Regions from separate parts of the Homo sapiens genome. Here region 2 is linked to region 1. The links are contacts of gene promoters, found by promoter capture Hi-C in blood cells and fetal thymus (Javierre and others, 2016). All regions are on one chromosome and are shown on one strand. Each heading gives the region's core, a stretch centred on a gene start or on the middle of the fragment in contact. The rest is flanking DNA. Distances are from core to core; before and after follow the strand shown.

The links. The method cuts DNA at HindIII sites, captures the fragments that hold promoters and counts their contacts. A CHiCAGO score of 5 or more calls a contact.
Region 2: a contact is called between a fragment that was not itself captured here and the fragment with the promoter of FAM9C in region 1, in 1 of 17 cell types (naive B cells). The highest score is 5.0, in naive B cells.

Annotation. Positions count from the first base shown.
Region 1 is chrX:13,042,702-13,047,523 of GRCh38, reverse strand. It overlaps FAM9C (family with sequence similarity 9 member C), which reads left to right and starts at 2,904. Exons shown (of 8, transcript NM_174901.6): 1 at 2,904-2,984; 2 at 3,667-3,795; 3 at 4,276-4,396; 4 at 4,575-4,606. The coding sequence starts at 3,735. It overlaps LOC105373133 (a long non-coding RNA gene), which reads right to left and starts at 2,791. Exons shown (of 4, transcript NR_171577.1): 1 at 2,675-2,791. The HindIII fragment of the contact is 8,868 bases long and covers 1-4,166 here.
Region 2 is chrX:13,283,287-13,288,108 of GRCh38, reverse strand. All of the region lies in intron 1 of LINC02154 (long intergenic non-protein coding RNA 2154), which reads left to right. Among named protein-coding and RNA genes, the nearest start is that of LINC02154, 18 kb to the left of the region's middle. The HindIII fragment of the contact is 4,687 bases long and covers 596-4,822 here.

The DNA of each region.
Region 1 (4,822 bases), core at 1,655-4,154:
TCATTCTTAAACAGCTGGAGCCTAGAATTTGCTGCTTCATTCGAGTATAAACTTTTGCTAAGAGTCTAAGAATTGGAGAAAAGGCTGAAATGTGAATGAACATGAAGCCCTCAAACGTCTGGAGGATTATCAGCAGAGAAACTTCCATCTCCTGTGCTACCAGCCCTGTCTGATAAATGAGCAATTTGATTGGCTATTAGAGCGTAAATCACTAATTCAGGCTACAGAGTATGGATGTATACAGTCTTTAACCCAGTGATCACATCTTAGATTTCTAGATGTTTTCAAAATGAACAATTGTTGTTGCCATTTGATGAGAGGGTCTGAGCCTATGTCTCTACATGTATGCACAGCATACATGTTGTTTTCCAACATTTTATTATTAGAAATTTCAAATACACAGAAAAGTTGAAAGAATTTCATGGAAAACATTCATGTTCCCATCACCTAGATTCTATCATTGACATCTGGCCATACTGTTGTTGCTTATCACATATCTAGCCATCTGTTTGTCCCTCTGTCTGTCTATGAATCCAAGCAGTGCATTTCTTTCAGTTAGTTCTTAATGACAGCAATAGAAGAGTGAGGGCTGCTTTGAAAATTGGTGTTATTTCTACATTTGTTATGAAGCATTATCCTTACTTGTCAGTCAATTCACATAGGGTGGAGTAGGGTGTTGGGGGTAGGAGGGGGTTACACCTCCAGTTATTAGAAACCAATTCTCTAAATTAAAGTACTTATTCTAATAACTCTTGAGAAATCTCCTTTAAATTTGCTTAAACATTTCCTGTGGTCTTTGTAGATAACCTCTAGTGGGAAAAAAAAAAAATTGAAGTGACCATGTTTGCCCTAAAGGCTTTGGTTAGTTCACAAAACCTGTTTCCGCAACCCAGAGTTGCTTCAAATAGACTTCCTCCCTTTACAAAGGCTTAATGATTTGTGTATTGAGTTGTTTCTTTCTGGGAGACATCTCACAAATACTCCAGTTGGGAAAAAGAGATAAATTGCTCCATCCAAAGTTTAAAAGAATTTCTTCAGGGTTTTGTAACTTGGACACTTGGTGTTCTGAAAAGAATGTCTTTGTGCCTATTTAAAATTGCAGAATCCTTTTCAGTTTGTTTCTAGGCTGTTATGCCAAAGAAGTAGCTCTGTAATCCCCATTTGTCTTCACCTGACATCAAATTCCACTTTGTGATGGAGAATTGTTCCTTGATTTGACATTCTTTTAAAGAAAAATGAGCCAGCATTGAATTCTTAGCTGAATACCAGTAGTTGGTGTATGTGTGTATGTGTTTCCAATTATAGACAGAACCTGGTATAGTACTTTCAGCTGAAATCTTTGATGAAGCATATGAAAATTACATTGATCCAGATGGGATAGAAAGCTGTAAGACTGGTTGCACAAAGCCCTCTGCAAGATTTGTCTTCTTTCTTAATGTTACACATCTTAAGCTCGAAAGAGAGAGAAACCTGAAGCAATCATGGCTTAAAATTCCCCAAGATGTCTCATTGGCTAATTTGGGTACCAAGTAGATTGTGGGGAAATGGGGACAGCTGGTGGTATTTAGTGTCAGTAATTAGGGATTCTCTTTAGGTTATAGAGAACTCTTAGATATAAAGGTGAGCTGCCTTGTCAGGGAAAGATGGCTTCCAACCCAGCTGTGGAAATAATCGGGCTGGGCACGATGGCTCAAGCCTGTAACCCCAGCACTTTAGGAGGCTGAGGCGGGCGGATCGCTTGAGCCCAGGAGTTGCAGACCAGCCTGGGCAACATAGTGAGACCTCATCTCTGCAAAAAATAAACAAAATTGGCCAGGAGCGGTGGTTCATGCCTGTAATCCTAGCACTTTGGGAGGCTGAGGCGGGCAGACTGACTGAGCTCAGGAGTTCGAGACCAGCCTGGGCAACACGGTGAAACCCTGTCTCTACTAAAATACAAAAAAAAAAAAAAAAAAATCAGCCAGGCGTGGCGGCGTGCGCCTATAGTCCCAGCTACTTGGGAGGCTGAGGCAGGAGAATTGCTTGAACCAGGGAGGCAGAGGTTGCAGGAAGCCGAGATCGTGCCACTGCACTCCAGCCTGGGGACAGAGTAAGACTCTGTCTCTAAAAATAAATAAATAAATAAAATAAAATTAGCTGGGCATGGTGGGACATGCCTGTAGTCCCAGCTACTTGGGAGGCTGTGGTGGGAGGATCCCTTGAGCGCGGGCAGTTGAGGCTACAGTGAGTAGTGATTACACCATTGCAGCCCAGCCTGGGTGACAGAGCAAGACCCTGTCAAAAAAAAAAAAAAAAAGAAAAAAGAAAAATGAAAGAAAAGAAATGACCACATCATGAGAAATCTAGACATAAAGTCTTTAACTTTGTATATCCACTGCAGAATCATGCAATGCCCAGTGTGAGGGAATGGAGTAGGATAGGAGAAAACTACCTGCCCCTGCTGGGAGTCAACAATTTTCTTAGATAAAACATAAAAGCACAATCCATTGATAAAAAGGATGCAGCTGGGCGTGTTGGAAGCACACAGGACATGGGAGGGAGCCTGGGCTCCACCCGCAGGGTGATGGCCATTCCACCCAAAGGGGCAGGAGTGGCTGGAACGAGCCTGGGGGCAAGGTCCTAGGCCCCGTTCACTTGGCCTCCATTCCTTAGGGCAGGGTCCCCTGGCACTCACCACTCCCGAGTCCTTGCTTCCTTCACCAGGATGAGGAGCTGGAATATCGTGGGGACAGAGGCCTCAGAGAGCCACCCAATGAGTCCACAGCAGCCATGGACAGTCCGTGAGGGGGAGGGTGTGCCTGCAGGGGGCGTGGCCCCATGCCGCCCGCCACCTGCATGCGCACTGGGCCGACCAATCAGCGAGGAGCGCGGGCAGCCGGGGCGGCTGCTGCTCTCGTGAGAACAGAGGACCCAGGCCCTCGGAGGAGCTTCGCGGTGCCAGCCTCTGCAGGTCCTCTGAGGGAGCAACATCAGGGCTCCCTCAGGTGAGACGCCCTCGGTGGGGATGCGGGGAAGGCGGGCCAGAGGCCCTTTGGGGAAGAGGGTGTGAAGGGCGGGGCAGCCAGGCTGATCTGTGAGGAAATGGCCCAGGCATTGTCGCCTGGGGCCTGGGTCAGGGCAGGGAGTTGGAGCTGCCTGAGTGGTCCCCAGGACCCAGGAGGGTCCCGGAGGCCTGTGCATGTGTGCAGCGTTTGGGGGGGGGTCGGGGGGTCAACGTGGGTCCGTCTTGTCTGGCTGCCCATCAGGACGGGATACTTGGGGTCACCAGGGGTCCCCTGGGCGTCCAGGCTGGCGAATGGGCAGTCCCTGCCCCTGTCAGAAACAGGTGCGTACCGGCTCATTCCCATGGAGATGGCTGGGGAGATCCTGTGTCACCCCGCGGCCCTCCCGACTCCACTGGGTCGCTGGGGAACCCAGGGGCAGGGCCAGGCTCTGTCCCAAGGGCACTGCAAGAATCCCGCAGAGGCCGCGGAATTCTGCGAGCTCTGCAGCCAGCCCCGGGGAAGCGCTGGACGGGCCAGGACAGGAGGGGATGATGGCATCTTCTCCGCGTCCCCTCCTGCTCCCACGGGAGACCCGGGGCGCCCTTGAACCTGCGATCCTGATGATTTTCATTTAACACGCCTCGTTTCCTTAGTGTCCTTAGTGTGTCTTTGCACTCACCAGGTTCAGAGGTCGCCTCTAGCTTCCCAGGCCAGTCAGCCACGGAGCCCGTGGGCAGGAAGGGCAGCAGGATGGCTGCCAAGGACCAGTTGGAGGTTCAAGTTATGGCCGCCCAGGAAATGGAGCTTGCAGGTAAACACAGCCCAAGGGGACCTAGAAGAAGGTGCACGCCCAACAGTCTGTCTGCTTTCTGGGCGGGGCGCACATGGGCAGCCCGAGGCCCCCGGCCCCTTCGTGGCTTTGGAGCTCACCGTGCATGTGCTGAGATGCCCCAGGTTTTCAAAGCAGGCTCAAGGGCCTTAGGCTTCCCGTGGGAGGCTCCCCCTCATAGCAGGGTTACAGATGCTCTCAGAGCAGCTCTTCTCCATGGATGCGGTCCTGACATCCAAGGGATCTGACCTGTGAACGTTGTTTACTGGGACTTGAACCCGAAGGGCTTCCAAAAATGCCTCCGTAAAATGGTTAGGAGCCGGCGATTCCATGTATAGCTCTGCGGTAAAGCTTTAATTGGCGGAGAGCCAAAAAAGTCTACAAATAGTACGTTTCTCTATGAAAAATGTCCACAACAGCGTCTTCCTCTAAAAAAGGTTTGTCTTTTTTATTTTAATGCAGGAAAGGATCCAGTAAGTCATGAGCATGAGGAAAGAAAACCTGTTACAGAGACAAAGGAGGGAGATGTAACTGATGAGCATGGGGAAAGAGGATCTTTTGCTGAAACAGATGAACACACGGGGTAAAGTGTTTAAGTCCCTTTTGCCTGTCAGATAAGGTCTTTTAGGAAAAGTCAGCTTTGGATCATGTCATCACTGTTATGTTCTATGCAGAACATTTCACACAAGACATTTCTTCCCAACAAACAAGGCCTTTTGTGTAGCATTATGTTAAAATTGTGTTGCAACTTTTTGTTACAGGGTTGATACCAAGGAGCTAGAAGATATTGCAGGTATGTTTTACGAGCTATTTGTGGTTTATGAAAATTGTTTTCAACCATACAACCCTTACAGTAGGTTATATGAATTAGTGGATGACAAGACTGTCTTAAATGCCTTCTTCTCATATATAGCATTTAATGTAATCTGTTTAATAATTTTTCTTACTTACTTTTTTAATTGTTGATGTGGAATGTGAGAATGCTTCTAATAATGGTGAAGCAAGAGGG
Region 2 (4,822 bases), core at 1,690-4,189, 240 kb before region 1:
TATATAGGCAGTTAACAGAGTTGCAACATTTTCCATACAAGGTCAATATATATGGTATAGCAGTTTGGTTGGTTATAGTTTGCTACATTCCAAGGTAGGTTGCTTTAGCATTCTGTGAGGAGGGGTGATGATCTGAAGGGGGTCTTATCTCTGGTGCCACAAGGCCTTTCCTAATGATTTGCAGGAAAAAGTAGAAGTTGCAGCTGCATGCTACATGACTCATGCCACATAGTCACATTCCTCTCAAAGCTCAAAATAATTTAAAGTTCCAACAGCTTTAAGTCTGAATGATTTAATTTTACAAGATCGTACCCTTTTGTCCCCCAATAATACTTATGCACAACTATCTATAAAAAGTTTGCCCTGTTTCTTTGAGTATTCATTTCTGAAGACTCCCATGTCGTGTAAAATTTATATTAAACAGATTTGTATGGTTTTCTCTCATTAATCTGTCTTGTATTATAGATGCCACAGCCATGACCCTTACAATGGGTGAGAATTTTTTTCTACCCTACAATGAATATTTGAATGTTCTACAATCTAGGTACTCAAACTGTGGCCCAAGTGCTGGTAGCATTAGCATCAACTGGAAGCTTGTTAGAAATGTAGAATCTCAGATCTCACCCCAGAATGGACTATGGACTCAGAATCTGCATTTTAATAAGATTCACAATTCACAGGTAACGTGTGTAATGTGTATGTTAATTCTAAGAAGCACTATTTTTAATTACATCTTATGTTCAAAATTCATTATTTCTCTCACTGTTTCAGAATCACCAAGAACCATAAACCGAGGATACTGCGCGCGCGCGCGTGTTTGTGTGTGTGTGTGTGTGTGTGTGTGTGTGTGTGTGTGTATGTAAGGGTAGTTATTTTAACAGATGTCACCCGAGCCTTTGGAGCAGCTTTACTTAGGATTACATTGATTGAGTGCTTTAGGTGTAGAGAATGAAACTCTGAGGACATGATCTGAAAGGAGATAGTGAAACAAGGAAATAGTTCAAATTCTTTGTATGTAACATGAACTGGAATTGAAAGCTGAAATAGGAGAAGAGATGAAGGTCAGAGTCCTTTCTTTAATATATGAATACATAATAATCATATTTTAAATGATTGCTTTTTAGTATAGAGATTTATACTTCCTCTTCCCTTGTCATTCCAAATGTTCATTCACTAAATTGTACTCTCATGTGAAAATGCTTGGGATATTTGAGGAAATTGAGTTAATCAAGTTTCGGGAATTCAAGTCAGTTTCAGGTCAATTACAAAGAGGTGGGTGGGGGTGATCTTAGCTGATGTCTGATGAACACCAGCTAGTTAATTCTATATAATCATACATAAAACAAACAGACTTTTATTCATAGTAGTTTGTAATGTATTCATATCCAGATTGCCCTGATCACAAATAAATTGGTCAAAGTGCTAGAAATATTACATAAGAAATAATTTAAAATGTTCCGTATGTACTGAAATATGTTGAGAAAATTTCTACCAAAGCCCAAGTTGTGTCCTAGTAGTAAAGTAGAAATACTGTTGTTGAAACATTGAGTGTATCATGGCTTGGAGCCCTGAGAAAGTTGCAATTTCCAAAATTGCTTGATTCGCTGAGTTAATTTAGTTATTAGAATAACCTGAGTCATTGCTAGAACTTTAACTAGAATAATGCATCTCGATTGAGGTTTTTTCCTCCTCCTTTACCTTCCACTTTCAGGAAAAAGAAAGAAAGTTATGACTAGCAAAGTTATTTTCCAAAGAGTTATTCCTAAAAACATATTTCAGATGACATTAACACCTAGTATGGAGTATTTTCCAAATAGTAAACAATGAAAATATCCCTGTTATTAGGAGAAAAATAGTACTTTATTTTAAGACGTACAGCATTTATCTTTACCAGTTAAGGTAAAGTATGCGATAACACATAAACCCCAAATCTCAGTGGCTTAAGAAAATAGAAGTGTATTTCCTTTTCATGTAAGGTCCAAAAGAGGTATTCCTGATAGATGGGTAACATTCCTCCAAGCGATAATTTTGGTACCCAGGCTTCTTGCATCTTGTGGCTTTGCATTTTTTAACATAGGACTTACAAGGTCACGGTGACACAGGATTTTTCACAGCCCCTTTGCCAGACTTGCAGCAGGGGGCACACCCTCTACACGGCCCACCGGGCCACATCTGGCTTGCATTCCGGCCTGTAACTCCTGCAGCTGCACAACTGCATCCTCAGCCCCTAGGGGGAGGGAACACATGAGTGAGTGAGTGTGGGGTCCAGCTGGCCACTCCAAGTGCCGACACAGAAGCAAGTTCCATGCAGGGCCTGCCGCCAGACCAGGCATGTTGCCCCAAGGGGAATGTGGTGGTACCCAGGCAGGGGTGCCTGTGACCCCAAAGCCCCAGAGTGGCTGTTACAGTGTGCTAATTAGCTCTTTTTGTTCTGCTGTTCACAGCCAGATGGACTGCAGTATGTTAGCAGCTAGTCAGCCTATTGTCCCCCTCTGGCCCACAGCTCCAGGACCAGCATGGCTCTGGGACTGGTTTGGCCCTGCCACTGCTTCTGTTTTGTGCGGCGCTGCCCCCCCACTGGTGAGGGCAGAGGGCCAGTGCCACAGCCTTTCTGGGTACCCACATTCAGTGGGTCTAGAGCTCTTGTCCCGCATCCAAGAAGAATGAGGTCATGCTGACTGTTGAAGGGTGATGAGGGCAGAGAATTTTATTGAGTGACGAAACAGCTCTCAGTGGAGAGGGGATGGGAAGATTGAGTTGTCTCTTCCCTGAAGTCAGGTCGTCTCTCCCCCAAAATCAGGTCATCTCTCCCCTGAAGTCAGTTGGCCTCTACCCCAAAGTCAGGTCACCTTTCCCCCAAAGTGAGATCATCTCTTCCTCAAAGTCAGGTCATCTCTTACCCCAGTGTGGCTGAGTCTGGATTTTTTATAGGCACAGGATAGGGGAGGGGCAGGCCGTAGGTAGCATTGGAAAAGGCAACATTCAGTTGGTGTGTGAGTATGCAAAAACAGTTAAAACAAAGGCACCAATCAAAGGTGGGCACAGTGTAAAAACAATAAGGGAAGAGTAGGTATATGTAAAATCGGTGAAAGGTGGGGATAAATCAAAGGAAAGCACACCAAATGGGACGACAGGTTCTCAATCTGGTCTGTGGATTTGACTTGTAACTTGGCCTTCAGGCTTTAAACAAGCCAAAGACAGGCTTGAAGGTGGGGTTTCACTAGGGACCTGCCCCTGTCTGCCTAGGCATTTGTCTGCCTCCTGCTGCTATCAGCAGCCAATAAGAAAGAACATGGAGGATGGTGCCTGGAGGTTTTTAATGGGCTAGACCTGAAAGTCACTCATTTTACTTCTGTCGGCATTCCATTGACCAGGATGCAGTCACATGACCACACTTAACTGCAAGGACAGCTGGGAAATGTAGCCTGGCTGGGTGCCCAGGAGGCAGAGGAGAGGGGTTTTTTTCAACAACTAGCTAGTCTATGCCAAGAAGATCTGTTCTTCTGTGCCTCCTTTATCAATTTTTGAAGCCCTAGTCAGTGAAAAGTTATGGTCATAATTATGCATCCACTACTGAATTCATAACTATAAAACAAAAACCTCACTGAATTAATGCATGGTATTAACCAAAGTATGAAACCAAGGGTTGAAAACAATTTTTTAAGTTCATCTTGAGCTGGATAAAAATTAAATTGAAATATGCCTGTTTCTGGAGACTTGCAGCTAATTCAAATGTCACTGTCATTATCATGTGGAGAGCTGTCACTTTACTTCATCTGGAAGAGTCACTTGGTACCATGGATCCTTAGAAATGCTATGTGCATAAATAAATGTTGCCTCCAATTGCTTGACAAAGGCAAGCGGCCCAAAGAAAAAGCCACTCAGGTGGAGACAATTAAATGTGATTGCAATTGAATGACTCAGCTGGGGATGGGGAATCACAAGACCTAGGAGAGAAGGAATTGTGTAGGAGTGGAATTGTGTGATCAAACCTAGGAAACAGTTGGCTAATCTCAGAGCAATCAGTCTAAAGGCTTTTCATGTAAATGTAGAATCAGAGATTTGAGGAAAACACAAGGGTCTAGGAAAGCAGGCCCTATATAGCAGTAGCCAAATGGAGTAAGAAAAGACAAACAACTGAAACAGTTTCTTCTTTATGACATGGGTAGCATGTCCATTAAATTTCTAAAGCTGCACACACCTCTTTGTTTGTGATGAAAGAGGTCAGGAAATCTCATGGACTGTGCATAAATGAAAGAAAGTGCCTGGCAAGTCATCTTATTTCCTCTTTTAGTGTTATCTCCAGATGCCCTCCTGTGAGGTGACTTAAGAAGGCAGCCCTTCCTGAAAGAGGAAGCACACAATGATAACAGCTGCCATTACTGAGCATACAGCATTGTAAACCAAAAATCAAGCCATGCAACAGACTGATGGGCCCTCCCCTTGGCCAAGGGCATTCCAAAGTTAACCTAAAAAACCAGTTCAGGCCGTGATGGGAAGTAGGGGTCGGACATGCCTCATTACACCCTCCTCCCATTGGAATCTGGGCACAGCTGACCAGCATTAACATTAAAACAGAGCCCTTAAGACTGATAGAACAGTCAAAAAGAGTTTGAATCTTTTTGTTGACGGCATGGACCAGGTACACAACTAGGTACTTACCCATGTTATCCCCATTTCAGGCAATGATTACTTTTGAAAGCAGCTAACTTGCTAATTATATTTCTTATTTTTCCTGATAGTGCTAAATAAATAAGATATATCAAAACCATTTAAAAATAGCAATTCTGGAGAGATAGCTTCCCTTCCTCTCTAAGTGTGA